Regions from separate parts of the Homo sapiens genome. Here region 2 is linked to region 1. Evidence: promoter capture Hi-C in 16 types of primary human blood cells and fetal thymus (Javierre and others, 2016). All regions are on one chromosome and are shown on one strand. The core of a region is centred on a gene start or on the middle of the fragment in contact, and the rest is flanking DNA. Distances in the headings are between cores, read along the strand shown. Region 1 holds the start of ASAP3 (ArfGAP with SH3 domain, ankyrin repeat and PH domain 3). Region 2 has its middle 20 kb from the start of MDS2.

What was found. Contacts are between HindIII fragments. The CHiCAGO score rates a contact against its expected background, and 5 or more counts as called.
Region 2: a contact is called between a fragment that was not itself captured here and the fragment with the promoter of ASAP3 in region 1, in 1 of 17 cell types (neutrophils). The highest score is 5.7, in neutrophils.

The regions. Positions count from the first base shown.
Region 1 is chr1:23,481,771-23,486,735 of GRCh38, forward strand. It overlaps ASAP3 (ArfGAP with SH3 domain, ankyrin repeat and PH domain 3), which reads right to left and starts at 2,409. Exons shown (of 25, transcript NM_017707.4): 1 at 2,235-2,409. The coding sequence starts at 2,363. RefSeq lists silencers at 2,244-2,693, 2,814-2,923, 2,934-2,983 and an enhancer at 3,174-3,273. The HindIII fragment of the contact is 9,206 bases long and covers 1-4,965 here.
Region 2 is chr1:23,604,650-23,609,614 of GRCh38, forward strand. No RefSeq gene overlaps it. Among named protein-coding and RNA genes, the nearest start is that of MDS2, 20 kb to the right of the region's middle. The HindIII fragment of the contact is 5,891 bases long and covers 1-4,965 here.

The DNA of each region.
Region 1 (4,965 bases), core at 1,159-3,658:
TAAATGGGCATTTCTGTCCATGGATAAGGTTCATATTGGAGCCCCTTCTCCTGCTCTAAGATTCTAATGAACAACCTGGGGAGGAGGATGAACCATGAAATCCCTAAGAATGTGGATGGCACTGAGCTATTCTGGGTCATGAAATGTGAGGCTATGAAGACAAATCTCAGGAAGCTCTCCAAAGGATGGGCTGGACAGCAGTGTTTCCCTGTGAGCCCCACAGTAAAATATAACCCACATCCACAGGCAGTGGACTCTGCCCAAGGAAGGAAGCCAAATCTGACCGGCTGCTTCTTATTTTAATAAAACATGTACCCCTACTATGTGCAAAGTAGTAGGCTAGGCTCCGTGAGACAAATGAGACAAGGTGAGGCTCTGTGAGACAAATGAAGACAAAAGAGACCCAATCACTGTCTAAAGAGATCTGCCGATTAATCTGACGATAATCATTCCATTTATCAAGAGGCATGGGCCAGTGCAGCGGCTCACACCTATAATCCTAGTACTTTGAGAGGCCAAGGCGGATAGACTGCCTGAGCTCAGGAGTTCAAGAACAGCCTGACCAACATGGTGAAACCCTGTCTCTACTAAAAATACAAATATTAGCCGGGTGTGGTGGAGCATGCCTGTAATTCCAGCTGCTTGGGAGGCTGAGGAATGAGAATTGCTTGAACCCGGGAGGCAGAGATTGCAGTCAGCTGAGATCGCACCACTGTACTCCAGCCTGGGAGACAGAGCAAGACTCTGTCTCCAAAAAAAAGATGCATGCTTTATATGCATTGTCTCATGTGAGGTACACATTATTACCCCCATTCCACAGATGACAGGACAGGTCACATGCCCACGTTCACCCAAATGGCAAACTGCAGAGCCAGCGTTTGAAAAAAGGTCTGCCTTGGCCGGCGCGGTGGCTCACGCCTGTAATCCCAGCACTTTGGGAGGCCGAGACGGGCGGATCATGAGGTCAGGAGATCGAGACCATCCTGGCTAACACGGTGAAACCCCGTCTCTACTAAAAATACAAAAAAAAAATTAGCCAGGCGTAGTGGCGGGAGCCTGTAGTCCCAGCTACTCGGGAGGCTGAGGCAGGAGAATGGTGTGAACCTGGGAGGCGGAGTTTGCATTGAGCCAAGATCGCGTCACTGCACTCCAGCCTGGGCGACACAGCGAGACTCCGTCTCAAAAAAAAAAAAGGAAAGAAAAAAGGTCTGCCTTCCCCAAAGTCGATGCTCCTTCCACAATCCTCTATCACCCTTACAAAGTGATACAAACAGACTCCGAGATGGAGGGTCACCCTGACAAGAGAGAAGAGGACAGATTTCCTGACACTGGCGCAGGGTGTTATGAACTACTGAGCTTTGTATCTGCCACGCAGTGGGTGCCTAGTACACTTAAGGTGAAGGGTGGAAGGCTAGAGCCGTTGCTGAGGTCCAAAATGCCACCCAAATTGAGGGCATCCTTTGGATGGGGAGCTGCAAAAACACATTATTCTCCGTTGGACCAAGGCCACGGGGTGTCTGTCCTAGAATATTCTTTGCAGAGGAGCTGCGGAAAGCTGCAGCAGGTTCAGAGAAGAGGAATGGAAGGAACTCCGAAGAGCATGGGAATGGGGTGGGGCAGCCTGCAAGACCGAAAGAAAAGGCCTGGGACGCTTTGCTGGGAAAGACAAAGAGGAGAGGGGAGGGGAGAGGAGACGATAAACTTGCCAACAGCCCGGCCAAGGTGAACCCCGGCTCCTGGCGCCTTCCCATCCGCATTCATTCCACAAACGCGGGCCAAATCTCCGAACCAGCCGCAAGCGGGAGGGGGCCTCTCTGCAGCCGGGGGGAAGAAAGTTCAGGACTGAGGCGGGAAGCCTGCCTCTCAGAAGGGGAGTGACTCGGGGGGCACACTTGTGGGGCTCCGAAGATGAAAACGCAAACTGAGGCTGGAAGGCGCTAGGCAAACACATATGTGATGAGGCGGTCACGCGGGGCACTTGGGGTACGTCCCCCGACCTGTGGAGTTTGTCATCGAAGAGACCTCGAGGCCCCCCAAAACGGTCCCTCGGGCCTTCCCCCGCCTCGACGGTGAGGACGCAGCTGTTGGAGATGCGCTCGGTCCTCCCAGACCTAGGGAGGGGGCAGGTTTCGGGGCGCGGTGAAGGGCCATCGCAGCTCGGGTGCGACACGCCTGTGGAGGTCAAGGCCAGGCCCGGCGCCGACCCCCGACCCCTCCCGCCTCGGCCCCCTCACCTCCTCCCGCGCCAGCGCCGCCCCTCGGTACCGGGGCATCTTGGCGGCGAAGGCGGCGGCCCCAGCCGGGGAGCTGAGGTCCTCCGCGGTGACGGCCAGGAACTCGGCGACGCTGAACTGCTCCGGCATGGCGGGCGCGAGCGTGGAGCTGCCGGAGCGGGGCGCGGGGGGCACTGAGCTGCTCCGCGCTGAGCCGGCCTCACCGCCGGCCGGGGGCGCCGTCCCGGCCTCCACACGCCCCGCCCCTCCGCACGCCCCGCCCCCGACCCTCCAGCCGCTCTCCGCTCCTCAGCTGGGACGGCCCCGCCCCCGGCTCCTCGCCTTCCTCCACCGCCAAGGTCCAGGCTCCGGCCCCGGTCCCGGCCCCGCACCGCGTCAGGCCGCTTCCCCGGCCCCTCGCCGGCCCCCTAGGCCACGCCCCCAGCCCCTCACCGCCTCAGACCCCGCCCCCTGGCGCGATGCCCCACCCCTGGCCTCAGTAGAAACTCCTCCGCCTTCCCCCATCCCTGCCCCTTCAGGGCTCTGTCCCGTTTCATCCCGCTCTGGGTCTTCCAAATCCTCCTCCCTTGCACGGCCCAGGCTGTTCCATCTCCGCGTCGAGTCTTAGAGCCCCCTCCCTCTTCCTCCCTCCTCTGCTGATTCGTTCCGAGTTCCCCATGACCTCGCCCCTTCTGCCCTACCACCCCCCCGCCACCCTTCCCTCCTCTCTCCCCAGTCCCGCCCAATCTCCTTGCCTCGCTCCGCCCCGAATCGCCCCACCCCTCCTTTGCTGCGTACGCCCAGCTCTCAGCCTCAGCTTTGCAGGCATCCGGAGACTCCCTCCTGATAACCCCCGCCGCCCCGGGGATGTGTGGATCGGGGCCCCTGGCTAGCTGTGTGACTTGGGGAAAATTACTTCTCTTCTGGAACCTCAGTTTCCTTATCTGTACAATGGGAAGCCTGATGCCCGCTTGATTGTGATGTTGCGAAGAACCGAACACGTGCGTGTACTAGTTCCCTCTTACCCGACCATAGATCGCACCCACGCCTTTACTCTTCCTGCTCCTGCCTTTCACCCCTTAATCTGGCTCACCATCCTTTGGGGCGGATGAGGGATGGGGTTCAGGATAGAAATCCACTTAGGTTTAGTTCTGAAGCCTGAGGTCCTCTGGGGAAAAGTTCTCCAAGTAAAAAGCTAGGAAAGCACCGCAGCAAGGAACATTGGTTTTGGAGTCAGAGGAACCTAGATTCCAATCTTGGTTACTTTGGATAAATTGCTTGCTTCTCTAAGCCTGCATTTCCCCCTCTTAAAATGGCCTCATGGTATTTTACCCCACAGGGCGGCGATTGAGAGAATCTTTTCTTTTCTCGCACAGAAAAGAAAAGAAAAGAAAAAATCCGGAAAGATATGCACTAAAATGTTGCACCAGCAACATTTTATGCACTAGCTGAAGACAGATATGCACTAGCTGAAGACATTATGAGTAACTTTCTTTTCTTTTGGTGAATCTGTATATCCTAACTTTTATACAATGACCATATACTACTGTGTAATAGAATTAAAAGTTGACGGGAGCGATGGCTCATGCCTGTAATCTTAGCACTTTGGGAAGCCGAGGTGAGCGGATTGTTCAGGAGTTCAAGGCCAACCTGAGCAACATGGCGAAACCTTGTCTCTACAAAATATACAAAAATTAGCCCGGCGTGGTGGCTCTTGCCTGTAGTCCCAGCTACTTGGTGGGCTGAGGCAGGAAAATGGCTTAAACCTGGGAGGTCAAGTTTGCAGTGAGCTGAGATCCTGCCATTGCACTCCAGCCTGGGTGACAAAGTGAGACCCTGTCTCAAAAAAAAAAAAAAAGAAAAAGAAAAAGAAAAGAAAGAAAAAAGAATTAAAAGTTGAAAAAAATGTGTACCATCTGATAGAGACGACAACTATTCCAAGAGTTCTTTCAAGGTCAACTTCTCCTGTTGAAACCAAATAGGCACTTTTCTTGTTATTTATTTTTAGAGACAAGGTCTCACTCTGTCGCCCAGGCTGAAGTGCAGTGCAATGATCATAGCTCAAGGCAGCCTCAAACTCCTGAGCTTAGGCACTTTTCTTGCTTGACTTTTAGGAGCATCTGACAATGTTAACCACTCCCTTCTCCTTGAAACACCCTTGCCCCTGAATCCTAGGAGAACTATTTTCTTTGGTGGCCCTCTCCCTCTGGCTGTTCCAAGAGCCCTTTCTGAGATGCACTTCCTCCGCAGGGATCTTAAATGCTGGAGTTGTTGGGAGCTCTCTGCTAAATCCTCTGCATGTCTCACTCTATCAGCCTTCCTGGATTTCTTCATCCAATCCCAACGGTAATGTTGATGTCTTCTGTACTAGTTTCCTGTTGCTACTATAACAAATCACCAATAACTTCCCTCAGCCTCCCGAGTAGCTGGGATTACAGGCACGTGCCACCACACCCAGCTAATTTTTGTATTTTTTAGTAGAGACGGGGTTTCGCCGTGTTGGCCAGGCTGGTCTTGAACTTCTGACCTCAGGTGATCCGCCCACCTCGGCCTCCCAGAGTGCTGGGATTACAGGCATGAGCCACTGCGCCTGGCCACATTTATTCTTTTACATGTCTGGAGGTCACAAGTCTGCAATAACTTTCACTGGGCTAAAATCAAGGTATCAGTGGGGCTGTACTTCCTCTGGATGCTATAAGGGAGCATCTGTTTTCTTGCTTTTGCAGCTTCGAGAGCTGTAGTTTTTGCATTC
Region 2 (4,965 bases), core at 1,067-3,566, 120 kb after region 1:
CATTTGTTTATATGAAAAGTCCTTTAATGACATTTTATGGGTTGAATTGTGTCCCCCCAAAATATATGTTGAGGTCCTAACCCGTAGTACCTCAGAATGTGACCTTACTTGGAAATAAGGTCGTGGCAGGTATAATTAGTTCAGATGAGGTCATACTGAAGCAGGATGGGCCCTTCATCCCATATGACTGGTGTCATTATACGAAGAGGAGAGAGACACACAGGGAGAATGCCACAAGATGACGGAGGCTGAAACTGGAGGGGTGTTTGTCGAAAACCAGGGAATGCCAAGAACTGACGGCCACCACCAGAAGCTAGGAAGGGGCAAGGAAGGACTCTACTCAGATTCTTAGGGATAGCACAGCCCTGAAGACGTCTGGATTTCAATCTCAGGTCTTTGGAACTGGGAGAGAAAACGTTTTTGTTGGTTTAGGCCTCCCAGCTTGTGGTACTTTGTTATAGCAGCCTAGGAAACTAATAGCATCTAAATCAGGCCAGGCGCAGTGGCTCACGCCTGTAATCCCAGCACTTTGGGAGGCCGAGGCGGGTGGATCACCTGAGGTCAGGAGTTTGAGACCAGCCTAGCCAATATGGTGAAACTCCATCTCCACTAAAAATACAAAAATTAGCCAGGCGTGGTGGTGCACACATATAGTCCCAACTACTTGGGAGGCTGAGGCAGGAGAATCGCTTGAATCCGGGAGGCGGAGGTTGCAGTGAGACAAGATCATGCCACCACACTCCAGTCTGGGTGACAGAGCGAGACCCTGTCTCAAAAAAAAAAAAAAAGGCCGGGCTCAGTGGCTCACGCCCAGTAATCCCAGCACTTTGGGAGGCCGAGGCGGGTGGATCACGAGGTCAGGAGATCTAGACCATCCTGGCTAACACGGTGAAACCCCGTCTCTACTAAAAATACAAAAAAAATAGCCAGGCATTGTAGCGGGCACCTGTAGTCCCAGCTACTCGGGAGGCTGAGGCAGAAGAATGGCGTGAACCCAGAAGGCGGAGCTTGCAGTGATCCGAGATGCCGCCACTGCACTCCAGCCTGGGGGACAGAGCGAGACTCCGTCTAAAAAAAAAAAAATTAAATCACATGTAATTGTCTGTTTGGGCCCCCACTGATCACCACTTCTAAGGGGGGGCTCTTCTCTGGAACAACCGTGTATAGGTCCCCATTCCCACGGCAATGCTTTGAGGGGCTTTTTGCCTGGGCTCTGGCTGCTCCCTGGCCCCTCCACTCAGCGACTTCCCTCCCCTCCCCTCTCGGCTCCAGCACATCATCTTCTGTTTGGGCTTTTCCTCCGGTTGCTCCCTCCATGTTCCCCCCCGCCTTTTCTCCCAACACCAGCTCCCACTTCCCCTTCCTTAGTGGAGTAGGTAAGAGCAGACCGCCTGGTTTCAAGTCCTGGCCGTGCCATTTCCTAGCATCTAGCAGTGAGAACTTGGGCAAGTTCTTCCCTTCTCAATGCCTCAATTTCCTCAACTGTAAAAGGGGAATACTAGCAGTTCCTAGCTCACAGGGTTGTTTGAGGATGGAAAGGTATTAAAAAGCCTTACGGGGCCTTAGCTCTTTAATTTGGCTTGTAGTAAGCACACAAAAGTGGTTATTATTATTATATTATTTTAGAGATAGGGATGATTTTAGAATGCAGTAGCACGATCATTGTGCGCTACAGTTTCAAACTCCTGGGCTCAGGTGATCCTCCCATCTCAGACTCCACAGTAGCTAGGACTACAGGCACATGACACCACACCTGGCTAATGTTTAAATTTTTTGTAGAGATGGGGTCTCGCAATGTTGCCCAGGCTGGTCTGAAACTCTTGGCCTTAAGTGATCCTCCCACCTCAGCCTCCCAAAGTGCTAGGATAACGGGTGTGGGCCTCCATGAGTGGCCTAGAGTGGTTATTATTACCTGCTTGGCCTACTGGCCTCCAGAATGCCTCCCTGACCACTGACTCAGCCTCTCGCTGGATTGTGTTACCCACATGGTATTGGAGCTCTCTGCCTTGCCTGTCTCTTCCAGACTGTACTCTTCTCTGGGTAGGAAAGGGGCTATTCTGCATCCTTGGGTCCTAGCATGCAGCAGGTGCTCAATGCACGCTTGTTGAATGACCCACTGAGCAGAGAATTGGCTGAGGCCAAGAAGGTCTGGGATGTAGAGGTTGGGGACAGCTTTCATAGGACAGTGTGCCCATCCTTCTAGAAGTGAGAGTCTTTTTTTTTTTTTTGAGACAGAGTCTCGCTCTGTCGCCCAGACTGGAGTGCAGTGATATGATCTCGGCTCACTGCAACCTCTGTCTCCCGTATTCAAGCGATCCCCCGCCTCAGCCTCCCGAGTAGCTGGGACTACAGGCATGTGCCACCACGCCCGGCTAATTTTTTTGTATTTTTAGTAGAGATGGGGTTTCACCATGTTAGCCAGGATGGTCTCGATCTCCTGACCTCGTGATCCACCCGCCTTGGCCTCCCAAAGTGCTAGGATTACAGGCGTGAACCACCACGCCTGGCCCAGAAGTGAGAGTCTTACTCTAGGTTCTTGAACCCTGCTCCAGCACCCCTGACCTTGCCCCCAACCCCAGCACATCCTGCCCTCCCGTGGCGCCCCCTCCACACACTGTTGCCCACGCACACCTGCCTGGTCCCCAGGCAGCAGCTTCCCCTGACACACATTTTCCACTGCTGGGCGGGGCAGAGCAGGTTACAGGTGAAAACAAGGTTTCCTTTCCTGAGTCCTTCCCCCACCTCCCAGCCCTGTTCCCTGGTTTGGTTTCTGTCCCTGCAGAACATACCTGTCCACAGTCCCTGACTTCAATGGCACAGGGTCCATTGGGGGCCAGAACATTCAAGGCTATGTGAGTGCCACCTAGGGTCTTAGATCAAGTACAGGGTATAGTCAGGACCTTGGCTCTGCTGCATTTGAACTGTGTGACTCTGGGCAAACCCGTTCCCCAGTCTGAGCTGGGTGACTCTGGGCAAGCCCCTTCTGCCCTCTTTCCCCATCTGCAAAAAGGAATAGTAATTCCAGTCCCCTGGGACTGTTATGGGGATTAAATGGGAGAATAGAGGGAGTGTGAATGAGTTCTATCAATCTGATTATTTGTGGGGACAGGGCAGGTACCCAGTGGAAGTAGGAGAGGTCACTTTCTCTGGGCCCAGCACTATGCCAGCCACTGAGGGGTTGTGAGTGTTTAGAATCTAGTGTGTGCTCCGGATGGGGGAGGGAGACTCCAGTGGACAGTACACTAGCCTGAGAGTAAGAGACCTGGGTTTGGATCCCCTAACTCTCTGTGTAACTTTGGCATGTCTCATCGCCACTTCAGGCCTCAGTTTCCCTGACTTGAAATAAGGGGACTAACTTGGATGCTCCTCAGGTCTGATGTCCTGGAGACTGCACTGTGCCAAGAGAAGGCAAGGCCAGGTAAAAATGGTGCAAACTTCCAAGTTGACACCATTCCTAAGTCACTCCTGCTGAGAACCTGGGGTGAAATCTTGGCTAGAGGCCAGTTCTCCTTGATTTCCTCCCATCGGCTTCTGTGACAAGTTCTTTTGTGTCCCTAGCTGGTCTGAATCGCTGCCCATCTCATCAGCCAGGCTTCCTTCTTCTGGCTTCATGAGCCCCTGCTCCTCTATGAAGACCAGCTGCAGTGTTCCTTCCTCCGGGAAGCCTTTTCTGACTCCCTCCAGCAGAATTAGGCATTTCCTCCTTGGAGCTCTCACTGCCCCTCCTAGAACACTCCATCACCGCACTTACCTCTCTTGCTTAGACTAAGTGTCTGAATACCTCACCAGGTTTGAAGGCAAGATCTGAGTCTTGTAGTTGCATGTCAGGCATCCAGCACAGGACCATGTGCAGAGTCAATGGTGGAGGATGGATGGGGGAATGGGGAGAAAATGAATGAATGGATGAATGAAGGAATTGAGAGGTGGATGGCTGTGTAGGCTATGGACAGATGATTTGATGGGGGGATGAATAATTGTTAAAGTGAAGAGGTCAGCGAATAATTAGCTACTGATAATTATTGTTGGCACCACACATCACTGGAGTCACCAAACACACGCCTGGACATACCAGCGAATGCTCCTTGCTTCCATGATTCCAGGGCTCTGGTTTCCCCTCCAATGCATGGATGTTGGCCAGAGAACCCTCCTATGGCTCTCTCCACATGAGAGCCTGGGGTCAGCTGCCCATTAGAATGTCTTACCTTTCTCAACACATTTTAATTTCTCAACTATCAGGGTTAAGATGATGGTGACTAATTCACTGTGAACTCTGCGTACTACACGAGGCTCGGGAGTGGGTGTTTCTGGATGTTTTGGTGAGGAGGGAATTGCTGACCATGACACTGGCAAAGATGCCAAGATGACCCACTGGCCACTTTTCCTGCCTCGTCTACTTTCCCTTCCTCTCCCCACCATCCAGTACAGCCTGTACCTTCACCCATGAACAACCCTCTCATCTGCTAAAAGAGAATTTTACAACTGACCTTGAGTCGCCAGTTATCTTCTGCAACCTACTCCATGCCACCTCAGAGACCCAAGAAGAATAGGGGTCAGAACCCAATTTAAGCCTGGGCATAGTGGCTCACGCCTACAATCCCAACACTTTGGGAGGCCGAGGAGGGCAGATCACCTGAGGTCAGGAGTTCGAGACCAGCCTGGCCAATATGGTGAAACCCCGTCTCTACTAAAAATACAAAAATTAACCGGGTGTGGTGGCAGGCGCCTGTAGTTCCAGCTACTTGGGAGGCTGAGGCAGGAGAATCGCTTGAACCTGGGAGGTGGAGGTTGCGGTGAGCTGAGTCGTGCCACTGCACTCCAGCCTGGGCGACAGAGCGAGACTCTGTCTCAAAATAAATAAATAAAAATAAAAATGGAACCCAGTTTGGAGGGTTGCTGCCTTTCCCTCAGTCTGTCCCCTAGAGTCGGTTGATAGCAGGAACACTATGGGACTTGGGGGCAGAAGAC